3 separate regions of the Homo sapiens genome follow, and regions 1 and 2 are each linked to region 3. Evidence: promoter capture Hi-C in 16 types of primary human blood cells and fetal thymus (Javierre and others, 2016). All regions are on one chromosome and are shown on one strand. Each heading gives the region's core, a stretch centred on a gene start or on the middle of the fragment in contact. The rest is flanking DNA. Distances are from core to core; before and after follow the strand shown. Region 1 holds the start of SPATA41 (spermatogenesis associated 41). Region 2 overlaps ASB7 (ankyrin repeat and SOCS box containing 7). Region 3 holds the start of CHSY1 (chondroitin sulfate synthase 1).

Evidence for each region. The method cuts DNA at HindIII sites, captures the fragments that hold promoters and counts their contacts. A CHiCAGO score of 5 or more calls a contact.
Region 1: the fragment with the promoter of SPATA41 here is called in contact with the fragment with the promoter of CHSY1 in region 3 in 6 of 17 cell types (non-activated CD4 T cells, naive CD4 T cells, total CD4 T cells and 3 more); the score reaches 9.3 in non-activated CD4 T cells.
Region 2: a contact is called between a fragment that was not itself captured here and the fragment with the promoter of CHSY1 in region 3, in 1 of 17 cell types (M0 macrophages). The highest score is 6.2, in M0 macrophages.

What each region holds. Positions count from the first base shown.
Region 1 is chr15:100,347,701-100,352,123 of GRCh38, forward strand. SPATA41 (spermatogenesis associated 41) reads right to left here and starts at 3,018. Exons shown (of 2, transcript NR_028139.1): 1 at 1,034-3,018. It overlaps LOC105371021 (a long non-coding RNA gene), which reads left to right and starts at 1,906. Exons shown (of 3, transcript XR_007064777.1): 1 at 1,906-1,982; 2 at 2,675-3,245; 3 at 3,979-4,423. RefSeq lists an enhancer at 2,186-2,445. The HindIII fragment of the contact is 2,620 bases long and covers 719-3,338 here.
Region 2 is chr15:100,647,335-100,652,163 of GRCh38, forward strand. It overlaps ASB7 (ankyrin repeat and SOCS box containing 7), which reads left to right. Exons shown (of 6, transcript NM_198243.3): 6 at 989-4,367. The coding sequence ends at 1,128. Among named protein-coding and RNA genes, the nearest start is that of ASB7, 47 kb to the left of the region's middle. The HindIII fragment of the contact is 2,078 bases long and covers 1,379-3,456 here.
Region 3 is chr15:101,249,446-101,254,528 of GRCh38, forward strand. CHSY1 (chondroitin sulfate synthase 1) reads right to left here and starts at 2,603. Exons shown (of 3, transcript NM_014918.5): 1 at 1,692-2,603. The coding sequence starts at 2,011. RefSeq lists silencers at 1,588-2,017, 2,208-2,517, 2,688-3,067. The HindIII fragment of the contact is 7,881 bases long and covers 1,403-5,083 here.

The DNA.
Region 1 (4,423 bases), core at 1,768-4,267, 900 kb before region 3:
GTGGTTGAATAGTGAGACCAGTACCTGCAGATGACACACCTGCTATCTAATGATGGAACCACACCATCCCCAGAAAAGAGGCCCATTATCCTGTGTTCTGGAGCAGATCCTACACATCCAAAATGGTCCTGAATAAAATGTGCGTTATACATTAGGCTGTGAGGTGGGGGATGGGGAGAGTCCAGGACACATCCCCACATCATTCTCATCACAATTATGATCTGATTTACAGAAAACAGTATCTTTGAAGTGGCATTAAAGTGAAACTTCTGGATGAGCAAAACTGGCCAGAGGTCTACATTTAACTAAGTAGCTTAATTTACAAAAATGTCTGTCCTCAGTCTAGACCAAGGAAAAAGCAATGGTAACTGCATTCATTTATGTACTCATTAGGTCCTTCAACCCTTCTTCAGTGCCTACTTTCTGTGTGCCACGTACTGAGATGCCAAATGAAGAGGCAGCAGCATATAAATTGCACTTCTTTCCCCACAGTTCTCTATAGAGCTCTGTTATGAACTAGACACTGTTCCTGGTGCTGGGGATTTAGAAACGAAAAAGTAACTTCCCTGTGTTCTATCTAGTGGGGGAAGGCAGATAGAAAGAAATAATTTTGTGGGAATGTAAAATGGTACAGTCACTGTGGAAAACAGTACGACTATTCCTCCAAAATAGATTTACCCTATGATCCAGCAATTCCGTTTCTGGATGTGTACCCCAAAGCTTTGAAAGCGGGGACTCCAACAGGTATTTGCATACTCATATTCATAGTATGCAAATTTAACTAAGTAGATGTTGTCATGGCATTTGTAAGCTGCCATGGCACTAGCGGGAGTGTCTTTTGCCATGCTAATACATTATAATTAGTGTATAATGAGCAGTGAGGACGAGCAGAGGTTGCTTTTGTCACCATCTGGTTTTGGTAGGTTTTGGCCAGCTTCTTTACCGCATCTTGTTTTATCAGCAGGGTCTTTGTGACCTGTATCTGGCAAAACCTCCCCTGAGATGCAATTCATTGGTTCCTGGGGTAACCAACCTGCCTCCCTGGCAGCCACTGACTCATCCTGTGACGAAGAATGCCTAACCTCCTGGGAATGCAGCCCAGCAGGTCTCAGCCTCATTTTGCGCAGCACCTGTTCAAGATGGAGTCGCTCTGGTTCGAACACCTCTGACAGCTGCCCGACAATGTGAATGTACTTAATGCCACTGAACTTACAAATGATTGAAATGGTAATTTTACGTTATAGTACATTTTACTACAGTAAAAAATGTTTTAAAAAAGAAATCATTACTCTCTTGCTAAGATCTTGTTTCATCTTAACACACACGAGATGCCTTGTCTTCATTTCGTGGACAGGCAAGGCCGAATTCCGTTTCACAGATAGAGGACTGAGATCTGGAGGCAGAGGGCAGGAATTAAAAACAAGACAAACAAGAGCCTTATACAGGCAGTGTCTTTCTGAGTCTGATCCCTGTTGTCTTGAGAGCTGCGGTGAGGGAAAGTCGTCTTCAGAGCCCTCAGGGTCAAAGCAGTTTGTTACCCTTGAGATAGACAAAGCTCCTAACCTCTCCAGCTTTTTGCCGACAGCTCGATTCTGATGGGCACTGACCTTTTCCGACCCTGTTTTCAGGAGCCGACTCCTGGCAGGTTGGTTGTAGGGGCCCTCTTGAGTGCTTCACACACAGCAGTCCTGTTGGGGTGAAGGTCACCGTCACTGTGATAATTGTTGTCGTCGTTGAAACCACCCAGCCCGAAAGCAGCATGGGCTGTGCCCAGAGCCGCCGTGCCAGAAGCCCACGCTTAGAAATAGAGGGCCGAAGACCAAAGAGGACTGCGGGTTCTTGGGCCAAACGTGACCCTCTCAAATCCCCCAACTCGGGGATTTCGTTAGCTGGGGACTGGTGTGCCCGGGTTCCAAGACCCCTGCGTAGACTCTGTCTATAGGTGGAAGAAGGCCTTTGCCCCGAGGCATCCAGAGGTAACGGTGAGAGGAACAAGGGCACGTGGGGGATCCCACCACAGCCTCCCCTGAGACCCTCTTCACGCTGGTTGCAGGAGTAGCCAACCCCGCTCCCTGGCAGCCCGTGAGATGCCACATCCCCTCCAGCAGGGGGCGGCCGGCATCGGTCCCGTCTTCCTAAACCGGCGTTGGTGGGAAATGCCGGCACCAGCTCCCTCCCCGCTCCAGAGCCCTGTTTTCCCCATTTGTATTTCACTACTTTCCTGTTGAGCTTGGATTCCAGCCTCAAATTCCGCGATTTGGCCGGCATCCTAATCCCCGAGTGACTCTTGCCAACCACTCTCTGTGGGGCCTGTGTGCTTCCTCCTGGGTTCTGGGGCGCTGGCGGCGTCCGCTTCACCGGGAACGGGAGCCCCAGCCTCCCGAGGCCTTCCTGCCTGGCTCTGGGAATGGCCACTGTCCAGAAAGCCCCGCGGCCGTCCATGCTCGCTCGCTCAGTCAGGCCCTTGTGGGGATATTGCAGAACGAGTCCGAGTTACTATCCCTTTAAATACAGGCGTTTCGGCCTAGCTGCCGCCGGTCCAATCCGCAGCGCTTCCGTGCCCCACTTTCCCGCGTCAGCCTGGCTCCGGCCTCCACCAGGGGGTGCTAGTGAGATCCCAGCCAGCCTCAGAGCTGAGCGTCCAGGGCCTTCAAATGTCCCCATCCTTGAAAAGGCAACTCCAGTGGCATCTTCTGCGGGGAGACCAGAAGCAGCATCTGACGAGGAGACAGCACTGGCGGTCCCGACACAACTGAATCGGCAGGATGAGGGCCCTTAGTGTTAGGCACCGGCGGAGCTGCATCCCACCCCGTCTCGTCCCCTGAGAACAGCTGTGAGAAGCCGCCTATTTTTCATCGTTCTGCAACACACCTTTCCCTTCCTTGGGATATTTCTCCTCTTTCAGCATTGCCGCATCAGGGTTCCAAAGCCCCGTTTCTCTCCTAGTTCTTTCTTTGCTCAAGAAAAGCAGCTTGTCTGATAAACTAAGCTATGTATGATTCGCTGCCAGTACAGACTGAAAAACAAAATAAACTCCCAATTCACAGTCCTCCGTTGCGTAACAGTGAGCAGACGTTCTGAGAAATGCATCGTCAGGCAATTGCATCATTGTGCAAACAATATAGAGTGTACTTACCCAAACCTAAACAGCACAGCCTACTACACACCCAGGCTGTAGGCTGTGCTTCTAGACTACAAACCTGTACAGTGTGGTACTGAACACTGTAGGCAACTGTAACACAATGGTAAGTATTTGTGTATCTAAACATAGAAAAGATACAGTAAAAATATGGTATGAAAGATTGAAACTGGTGCACCTGCCTAGGGCACCTACCGTAAGCTTGGAGCTTACGGGACTGAAAGTTGCTCTGGGTGAGTCAGTAAGTGAGTGGTGAGTAAATACGAAGGCCTAGGACATTACTGTACACTACTGTAGACTTTAAAACCCTGTACACTAGGCCCACACTCAATTTATTTTTAAAAATTTTCTTTCCTTCAATAATATATTCACTTTAGCTTACTGTAACTTTTCTACCTTAAGAATTTTTAAATTTTTTGACTCTTTTAATAACAGCTTGAATACACAAACACATTGTACAGCTATACAAAAATATTTTCATTCTTCATATCCTTATTCTATAAGCTTTTTTCCTACTTTTGAAGTTGTTTATTTTTTACATTTTAAACTTTTTGTCAAATATTAAGACACAAACACACATTAGCCTAGGCCTATACAGGGTCAGGATCATCAATACCACTGTCTTCTGCTTTCACATCTTGTCCCACTGGAAGGTCTTCAATGGTAATAACACACATTCTTAGTAAATGCAAATAGTCATGGCTCAGACTGATATAGTAATGATAGACTATTCAATATGTGGTATTGGACAGCTGTTTATATATTTGTACGAACCTAAGTTAGATTCTGTGGTGGTTCAAAAATATATCCTCTAATTATGACCTGCTTCCCTTCAACAGGTGTACCTAATTCCTCTGCCTAGAAAGTGTGCTGGAATTACTGCCTGGCTTCTGATGAATAGGGCGTATTGAGAGTGATGCTTTGTGAGTTCTGAGGCTAGGTCATAGAAAGGATTGAACTTATTCCTGAATGTTGCTCTTGGATCACTTGCTTTTTTGGGAACCACCAGCCATGTCATGAGGACACTCAAGCAACCCTGCAGAGAAGCACATGTGTGGAGAGGCACTTCTTGGAAAGGAGGCCAACTTGCCAGAACCAACTAATTTGTCATGTGAGTGAGTCATTTTGGAAGCAGATCCTCTACCCTCAGTCAGGCCTTCCGATGATTTCAGCCCCCAGCCTTTGAGTCTGCCCCAAACACCATGAGTAGAGACAAGCCCTTCCCACTGTGTCCACCCTGGCTGAATTCCAGACCGTTAAAAAAACAAGAGAAAATAAATTATT
Region 2 (4,829 bases), core at 1,168-3,667, 600 kb before region 3:
TACTTCCCTCGTAAAAGGATGAAAGGAGTTAATACATGTCATGAGCTCTTAACAATACATGGCGCAGAGTAAGTATTCAATATATATTAGCTTTATTATCATGTTTAATATGAAAGCAAAACTTCCTTGACTCCAAACACTACTGAAGCACAGTTGAAGAATTCTTCCTTGTTTTTGGAGCCATCTGTATTGTTTTTGTAAAACAAAATATTCCAAAGGGAAAGAAATAGGATTTTGTGATTTTTCTTTTGAATTGAGATATAACGGGTTTTTATTGGCAAGTGATCAGGGTGTGGAAGCTTGAAGCGATGTAGATTCAGAATACCTTGAGGCGCTTTTTCACACCCCCTTCTGCTGCACTCCTCAACTGTCAGCCTTACAACCAAGGTTCTGCTGTGTTCAGAATCACGGAAAACAGGTGAGCAGATCTGGAAAGCTTGTTTGGAAAGCTCCACAGAGACCGTGGTGGGTGTCCGGGCTCCAGTGTCCTAGACCCAGAGCTGAAAGGGAGGCTCACAATAGGGGACATCTCTTTCAGTCCCCACACTTTTCAGATTGAGAAGCCAAGGCTCAGAGGAATGATTGGCTCACAGTGGCTCACCCAGCGTGAGAGAGACCTAGTCAGGACGAGAACCAGAATTTTCCTGATTTATAACAGAAAGGATATGAGGCTTAGAATCAAAACTGTTTTTGGTCTCAGTTGAAAGCCTTAATTGGTTGTCTGATATTAAGCAACTTGTTTACATCTGATACTCAGTTTTCTTATTGGTAAAATGGAGTTGAAAATATCCACCATCCCACGGTTGTGAAAAGGATCAAATAAGGCATCGCATGAAGGTCCTAGGACACTTTGAGTTGGTATCTTTCCGGTCCTTTGCATGTCAAGTCCATAGAGAGAACTTCCAGGGAAATGAACAGTTCTTTTCAAAAGTGCCTTAAATATTGTGCTTTGTGGCTTTGTAACATTTTCTTTTTTCTGTCTTTTTAGGACAGCCCAGAAACTTGCAGGACCTGTGCCGAATTAAAATTCGACAATGTATAGGCCTTCAAAACCTAAAGCTACTTGATGAACTACCAATTGCCAAGGTCATGAAAGACTACTTAAAACACAAATTTGATGATATCTGATATGCCAGAACTGTGAGCAAGATTAGGAGTTCTATTCTAGATACTTAAAAGGCTTTTTGCCTTGCACAAAGTATATCCTATGCAATTTCTGATTTGCTGTGAAATCAGAAAGCAGGTATACACTTTTGGGTTTTCTGTTTGTTTGGTTGGTTTTCATTGTAGGGGAGGGATTTTTTATATATATATAAAAACACACACCACATGCTTGAAGGTCTTAATTTGGTTTCTTGGTCCAAGTTTAAGAGGTCCAAGCTTTGTATACAATACTGCATTTAGAAAAATTGTCTTTTCTTAAATGACACAAGCAGGTTTAGAGTGGAGAATTTACCCTTTCCAAATTTATGGTTCCTTGGTAAGCACGGTATTCTAAACCAGCAGAGCACTTGTTAACGTTTGGAGGCACAGTTTCACCCAGGGCGACCCTGGGTTCTTTTGGAAAATGCCCTAAGAAATGTTTGAAGTAACGCTGTCACCTCATTCATTTTTAATGAGTACAAACTGGCCGTTTCAAACTGTTCTTTTTCCTAATTAATGTAGCTTTCGGATGACATAAATCCAGTATCTCTGCTTATGACATAAATCCAGTACCTCTGCTTTTCTTTTGCTGTGCTCTTGTTTTTAACTTATTTTTTTTTTAACAACTGTAGTACACTACCCTGAGACACTGCATCTCGATTTCTATCTCTAGTTAGAGTTGTACTTTTAAAAAAATTAACGGGAAAGAAAATAACTTTGTGAAGCCAGTGTATTCTGTTTTTAAAACTGTGCCTGCAGTGCAATACTCCTTCTGGTGTATTTTATCCATTATTTCACTTGCTGGTCGTCATTTCACAGCCAGCTTTGACATGCCCGTGAGGACAGGAGCCGCCGCTTCAGTTGTCACTGCAGAGCCATCGTATGTCAGTTGCAATTTCCATCTGAAGCTATGTCTTTGACTTCACTTTAAGCAGAAAATTTTGTACCCTGGTGGTCGAGTCTTCCCTTAAAAATTGTTAAATCATTTGGCTTTAATGGTTCAATAATTTGGGGTGGCTTCATGGTGTTTCTTTTCTTCCCAGTTTAAAAAAAAAACTTTTTAAGCGTAAAATCTTTAAGGGGTACACATTTATAAGTCTGGCTAATTTCTAATATGCTAATTAAACATTTCCCATTTTAAGGTTATATACAGTGAGGCTCTTCAGGACAATTATTTTCTGGGTTGATTGGGCATATGTTTGCCGTGTAAACACGGATATGATAAAGTGTCAGTAACAATGGAAAAGGTCCCAGAGGCATTAGGCATCTAAGAGGATGCCCTCAGAAACGTATTCTGGCTTGATTTGTGTTATTAACTTCAGAAGAACCTTTTCAAATGTCCCAGTATCGTTCTTAGTGCTTTGGGAAAAAATATTTAACACACTGTTAATAAATTTGTTATCAGAAGTTTACAAGACGAAGGGCTTCTCTCGTCTGAATTTCTAGATTTAAGTCATGAAGTGTAAAACTGTTTCACCCAGAAGTGTAACTAAGCAGAACTAGGAGTTTTCTCTGGCTTCACCTTTTTCAGAGCCAGCAGTGCTGTTTTCTCAAGCACAGCGTTTGCTCTTAGACTCTGATCTGCTTGTGCCTAAGCATTGCACAGGTTTCCGAAGACGGGCAGCTTCAGAGAAGAGGATTATTCGGGAGATTGCTGGTGTGGCCCATAGACTCTTTGGCATAGACTCTTTCGCAGGCAGCCACTCTGAGTGTGGCCAGTTCTATAACCATCCCCAAACTAGCTGGAGCCTGATGGATAGGAACGGGTAGTCTGTCCTCTTCCCCATAAAAATGTTCCAAAAAGTTATCTCCAGAGAGAGTCCCTTATGAAGACAGTTGCCAAGCTGTATTCTCATTCTTTAAACCAATACCCAGGTCAGGGCTAGTTCACACTAGCACTGTTAGGGACATGGTGTGGCTAGAAATGAATTGAGTGTGACTTCTCCCTACAACCCCAGGCCCAGGGATAGGAGGAGGCAGAGGGGTGCCTGGAGTTTCTGCACTCTCATCAGTGATGTTCATGTTACACTTGCACAAGGGCTGATTTCCACGTATGTGTGTGTTAATTTATTCACTTAGTTTCAAAAGATTTTCTCTCCCCAGCCATTCAGAGGTTTCCAAACTAAGCCACTGAGTTTGAGTCAGGGAATTCCACGTAAAAAGATCAGATTAAGGTAAATTCTTTGTTCTGTATTGCTGCTGTGACTTCAGAAAAAAAAAATTATGAGAGCTCTTCCTGGAATTTTGAAATTTCTATTTAATGAAGAAGTGTATAATTCCATTATTTATTGTTTGAGGTTTGATTTATCTGGAAGCTTAAAAAGAATGTTTTATTTTTGTTGTTAATAAAATCCCAATCACATTTCACAATAACTAAAATGTCTCCAGGTGGGTTACTGGTAGATGATAGTGGTGACACCTGCAGGTCTGCATTTGAATTGGATTCACAGAGAAGCATTCCATGGTCACATAATGAATAGGGAGAACAGATATTTTCAGAAAAATCAACCGATTGTTTTTTCCAGAAACAGAACAGAAAATGTTCAGAATATTTTCAAATTTGTCAGATTCTTTTATGTTTCCTTTGAAATTTATTATTTAAGCCTATTACTAAACCTTTATAAAAATATATTTGGCAAATACACCAAAGAAACCAGCTTACAAAAGATTATGATCATTAATGAACTGCAAACCTCATCTTTCGAAAACAAGGTTTTGTGTTTTTTTTTTTTTGTAAATATTTGTGTTTATAAATGTACAGCAGAGTAAGAGTGTTTTTTAGATTATTTAATTCCCATATTTCTAAACTATTTACTACACAGTAATCCATGCCTGTTAGTTTGGAGGACTTGACTGTCTCATTTTTTAATTCATTGTCAGTCATGCTTGGAACAGCATTTCCACTAGAGAATCCAGCGTTCTGGCAGTAGCAAGAGTACACATCTGGAGCATGAGGGACTCTAGCATGACTCGTCAGATGCACACCCCAAGAGACAAGAATGTGTAGTTTAATGACCGGCGTGGACCATACGAAATTGAGATTCTAACTTTCCTGCAGGAGTGCTCATGAGCCCAGAATGTGATTGGGATAAGGCCATTTGCCCACAAATTTAGCTTTCATGTAACTCCTAGTGTGTTATATCATAATGTATTTTGTTCTTCCTTTTTAATGTAAGTTTTGCTTTGGGTCAATTTGAATTAAAAAAATCAAATCTGATTTAAAACATGTTGGAGTTGTATTTTATTTCCAGTCTACCTTAAGTTTTTAATATGTCCAGCTATTTGGTGAAAATAAATAAAACTCTATCCTTCCTTCATCAGCATTTTAGATCGCTGGGAGTTGTTTAAGAATATGATGATGTGGAAAACAATACCACTCTCCATTGTCACCAGATAAGCCATTTCTTACCCTCCTTTAATTTGTTCAATGCATTCTGCAAATACCCACCAACAAAAGATGATCACAGTGTTGAGTGTATCGACCCAGCACTGGGCCTTCTTGGGCCGTAATCGCCACCTGCCCCGTGCGTGCCACACCTTGACTCACGACAGGGTTTAGACCACAGCGCTTCTAAACGTAGGACAGCATGCAGTCAAAGCAATGCATCTGACGGAGTTACCCTGCAGGAGATGAAGCAAAACAACTTTGATTTCACATTTCCTCTATAAAACATAAGCACAGCTTG
Region 3 (5,083 bases), core at 1,353-3,852:
GATAGGCTGGTTCCCAAATCACTGCACTAGTCTATGTATCTCTATCTATCGATCGATAGATAGAATTTTTTTTTTTTTTTTTTTTTGAGATGGAGTCTCACTCTGTAGCCCAGGCTGGAGTGCAGTGGCATGATCTTGGCTCATTGCAACCTCCGCCTCCTGGGTTCAAGCGATTCTCCTGCCTCAGCCTCCTGAGTGGCTGGGACTACAGGTGCACGCCACCACACCCGGCTAATTTTTGTACTCTTGAGTAGAGACGGGGTTTCACCATATTGGTCAGGCTGGTGTCGAACTCCTGACCTCAGGCGATCCGCCCGCCTCGGCCTCCCAAAGTGCTAGAATTACAGGCGTGAGCCACGGCGCCCCGCCTGCATTAGTCTGTATTTACAATACCTGCATTCTAAGCTTTTCAAGCCACTCAGGACCCTTCCTGGCGGAATGTGGGTTCTGGACTTAAGCAGGACCCTAATGGAAATGTGCAGGAATGGGGATCAAGCCATTCAAGGGGCAGTCACTGAAGACCACTTTCACCTTCTTTCTCAGTCCTTTACTTTCTCCCTTAAAGGCAAGGGAGACCATATATGCTTTTCCCCTCACAACATCTAGTGCCTGAAAAATCTGACCAAGACTGCATTTAAAAACTGAAGTGTAAAGGTATTGGTTATAAGAACAAACAGCAACCAGCTTAGCCTGGCTCAGCACTGGCTGCTCTGAAATTTCATTACCAGACAACTGATGCTCTAAAACCATTCCCCACATTGGTTTGCTCTGTGGCTGGATAAGACCCAAACTTTATCCATACAGTAAGTGTCTCTATACTTCACACATATAGGGTTTCCATCAAATCCCTTTATCGAGTCTACAACCCTCTCCAACTTCAAATTCACTCCAATACAAATCTGATTCTAACCATGCCAGCCATTCCAAAATCATCTCCCTTCTAGAGACTACATTGGCTAATCCCTTTGTTAAACCTGAACACAATTCCAGCTGCTTTTATGACTCATTTGGCCAACTAGAGCCCAGTTACTGGATAACATGCATACACCACCAAGCTGAACTAATTAACACCAGAATGCAGTTTTCCACTGAATCTACCAAGGGCCAAGAACTGCTTTTCCCCAAGGTTCTCTCTCTCTGTACTCAACAGACTGGTGTGGTCCAATATGCTGCGGGCATTCTCTTTCATTTATAGGAGTGCCTCCAACTGCGAAATGTGAGAGTATGATGTGGAAAGGTTCTAGAACTAGATTAACGTACACGGGCTCCAGCTTTGCAAGGACAAAGGTGCACATTTTAGGGAATCCAGTATCAGCCCCAACTGCCTCCACTATCAGGTACTGTGCTATGAGTTTTCCAACATTATGAGGGAGACCCGATCTGTCGGGCCCTTCTAACGAGAAGCTTCGATTTGCAAAGGCTAAAGTGCCTTCATCAGGGTGAGAGGTACACCCAGCGAGGCCACACTAGTCCATCTGACCCCAAAGGCCATGTTCCTGAGCGCCGCGCTCACCATCCCGCCTCTGATCTTTTCTCCCTCGGCCCGGCGTCTCCCGAGAGGCAACCCGATCCCGCCGGAAGCCCAAGAAGGGCCTAGGAAGCGGGCGGAGGCGAGAGCCAGGAGAGCACCCGGGATGCCGGCCGCCGGGATGCCGGACGCAGGAGGCGGTGCCCGGGGAGCAGGGGCTCACCTGTAGGCGGCCACGGCCCGAGTCTGCAGGTATTTCTGGGCGGTCATGACTCCCACGAAGAGAAAGTTCCTGTCGCGCGGGCCGCCATCTGGGTCCGAGCCGGGCGGCCAGAGCTGCGCCCCGCGCGCATCGCCGCGCGCCCCGCCGGCCTGGGAAGCCGCCGCCTGCCCGGACCGGCAGCCCTCGGGGCTGGCGCGGCGCCGTGGGCCCGCTCGCTTCAGCTCGGAAGCCCGGGGCAGGACGAGCCGCGAGGCCAGCACGAAGCCCAGGACGAGCCCGAGCAGCACGCTGAGCCAGGCGCGCCGGCCGCGCGCGGCCATGCCCGCGCCGCTCCGCCCGCCGGGCCGCCGCCGCAGGCTCCGCGCGCCCTCAGCCCGCTGCCCCCGCCCGCGGAGGCCAGCCCGCCCTAGCGCCGCGAGGCCCGGCCCGGGCAGCGCCGCCGCCGCCGCGGGCCCGCCGCGCCCATCGCGGCCCCCGAGCCGCCCGCAGGCCCCGCGCCGGCGCTTTGTTCCGCACGCCCGCCCCCGCCGCCGCGGCCTGCGCCTTTAAGAGGGGACCATGCCCGGCGCGCGCTAGCGGCGGCTCGGGCGCGAGGTGGCGGCGGCTCCTCCCGCTCGCGCGCGGGGACGCGGGGCCGGCACGACGGCGACGACGGCGGCGGCAGACGAGTCCGGGCTCCCGTCCCGCCCTGCCCGCGTCCTCCGGCTGGCTGGGCTCGGTTCGCACGGCGCCTGTCCCCGTCCTCTTCGTAGCCGGCGCCGCCGCCGCAGCTGCACATCCTCCGGCTTAGCTCGCCATTGCAACAGGAGCCCCTCACGTCACGCACGGCGCGTTATGAAGTGGCCCCGCCGGCGGCGAGCCGTGGCCCCTCTCGGGATCCGTCCGCGCCGCGCGATTGGCGCAAAAGTGAATGAGGGGCGGTTCACGTGGCCGAAGTTTGACCAAAAAAAAAAAAAGCCCTCTCGGGCGCCCCGCCCGCGCGGTCTGCGACTGGAGCTGGCGGGCGGAGGGGGCGTGGGCCCCCGCCCGGCGCCCGCGGGGCCGGAGCTGCCCGTGATCCGCACCTAGCACCCGGCGCAAGGGCGTCCCCGCGAGGACGGCCGCTTCCCGCACCGCGGCGCCCGGGCGCGAATCTCGGGAGCCAGCCTTGCAGTGGGGGCTTCTCGGCCCCCAGACTCCACGCTGCGCACGTTCCTCCCGCACGGGCCGTCCTCGCTGCACCCCACGGCCACGCCCTTCCTGCCGCCGGGCCGGCCCCGCGCTCCCGGCCCCGCGCTCCCGACCACACTGCAGCTTTGTCCGCAGTCCCGCGGCCGCACGCAGGGAACAGCCGTCCCGGAGCCCTGGGGACGTGCGCGCCTGCGAGTGGACCGTGAATTCAGTTACCTTGTTCCCTGTTGCTAGTTTCTACGCTAAATAAGAAGAAGAAGAAGAAAAAGCCATCTTTAATACTTAAGGTCCACGCTTCTCATACAGTACTAGCATTTAATGGATCTCGAAGACAAGGAAAATGAAGTTAATGCCCTGGATGGTAAACCCTACTTTCATTTACATACTGTGTGGGCAGATAGCCGGCTAGTACCCCCAGCCTGGGACTTTGTCCCTACTTTAATATAGTCCGTCTGTAAAAGTGCCGTGGATTTCTAAAGACGGATTTTGGGTCCCAGATCCTCTACTCTGGATTTTAAGTTTTATACATTTCCTCTGCAATACTTCAGCTAAGGCAGCAAAAGCGGAGGTCTCCATACAACGAAAGTTTGTGTAGAGTTTCAGTCTTGTTACTTAGTCACCAGTATATTGGGGTTTTCTAATGAAACTTTTGAAGGGCAAAGTGTTTCCCTGGGCCTGAGAAGTTACCTGCATTGAATCAAATAAACACATGCCTGGGGCAATCCTTGGATCTTTCTTCATTGTTGACCAAATGGTTGAAATACTATCACACAGTTTAAAATGCCTGTGGGAGCTTCAGATACCTTCTCGGCACCTGAATGGTGGTCACTCTTGTTTATTCTTTGGATATTACCACTTTCTTTGACACTTGTGATTTATATTAAAAATAGTTCATTACCTACCTTCCCACAGAGCCCCTCCCTAAGGGGTGATCCACATCTAAAAATAAAATACTCATTATGCAGTGAATACAGGATTCCAGCAGTGGTCTTGGGAAAAATACAGAACATACAACCATGAATTACAGGCTCGAAAACCATCGAAAAAGGTTTCCACTAAGACCATAAACCACAAATGCCGAGGAGTCACCAGATCCCCCAAATTCAGCAGCCCCATCATTCACAGTGATTTACATGAAGTACGAATCTGGCCAGATTCAGATGTTCAATTTTGTAGCATATTCAACGATTTCAGTATTTTCTAACCTGCTTTAGACTTACCTAGTTTTCTTCGAAACTAGTGTCCAGTGAAAAGCTGGCCGGGCGCGGTGGCTCACGCCTGTAAACCCAGCACTCTGGGAGGCTGAGGCGGGCGGATCGCCTGAGGTCAGGAGTTCGAGACCAACCTGACCAACATGGAGAAACCCCGACTCTACTAAAAATACAAAATTAGCCGGGGGTGGTGGTGCATGCCTGTAATCCCAGCTACTCGGGAGGCTGAGGCAGGAGAATCGCTTGAACCCGGGAGGTGGAGGTTGCTGTGAGCCGAGATCGTGCCATTGCATTGCACTGCAGCCTGGGCGACAACAGCGAAACTCCGTCTCAAGGAAAAAAAAAAAAAAAGTATATAAATATCTGATGGGAATAATATTCTGAGGATGCCAAATATTTTGTCCTCCTCAATATCCTGGTTCCTAGTTGTCCCTCAGTTCCTAGGTTAACAGTCTCACCTGTCTCACCTGCAGGCTTAATGGGGGTCTTTCGTAATGTAGAAAGGATACCCTTTTCTTTGTAAAGGCTGAGCCTGAGGGCTTACAATTCCCTGGAGAAGGAGAGTAAGACATACGGGAACTCCCTCTGGGAGAAGAGGGATATGCCAGGCCAAGAGAGGGTTGGAAGGAGAAGAGAGAAACTGAGGTCCTGTAGAAGTCTGCCAGGGGCAGGGACCAATTCCGGCATGCAGCCTAGGAGCAGGAGGGCAAGCTCTAGCACATCTGGAAGGAGCAGCTGGATTGTTGAGCTGAGGCAGTTCTCCTGGGGAAGAATCCAAAAGTGTCCCAGTAAGGGGCCTGGCTCAGGAGACAAGGCTATCCTAAGTGGGGATTTCACAGCCAGTAGCAAATACCTGGAATCAAGAACTTCAGTGACAGCCAGAGACCCAAACAGCTGGACAGGACTGGTACCCCCAGTATGAAGGCCTGTCCCATGCCCAGCCCCACTAGTCAATACCAGCAAGGAGCCAGGGAGGACAACGAGGGTCTGGAACATCTGCCCCCAATGCAC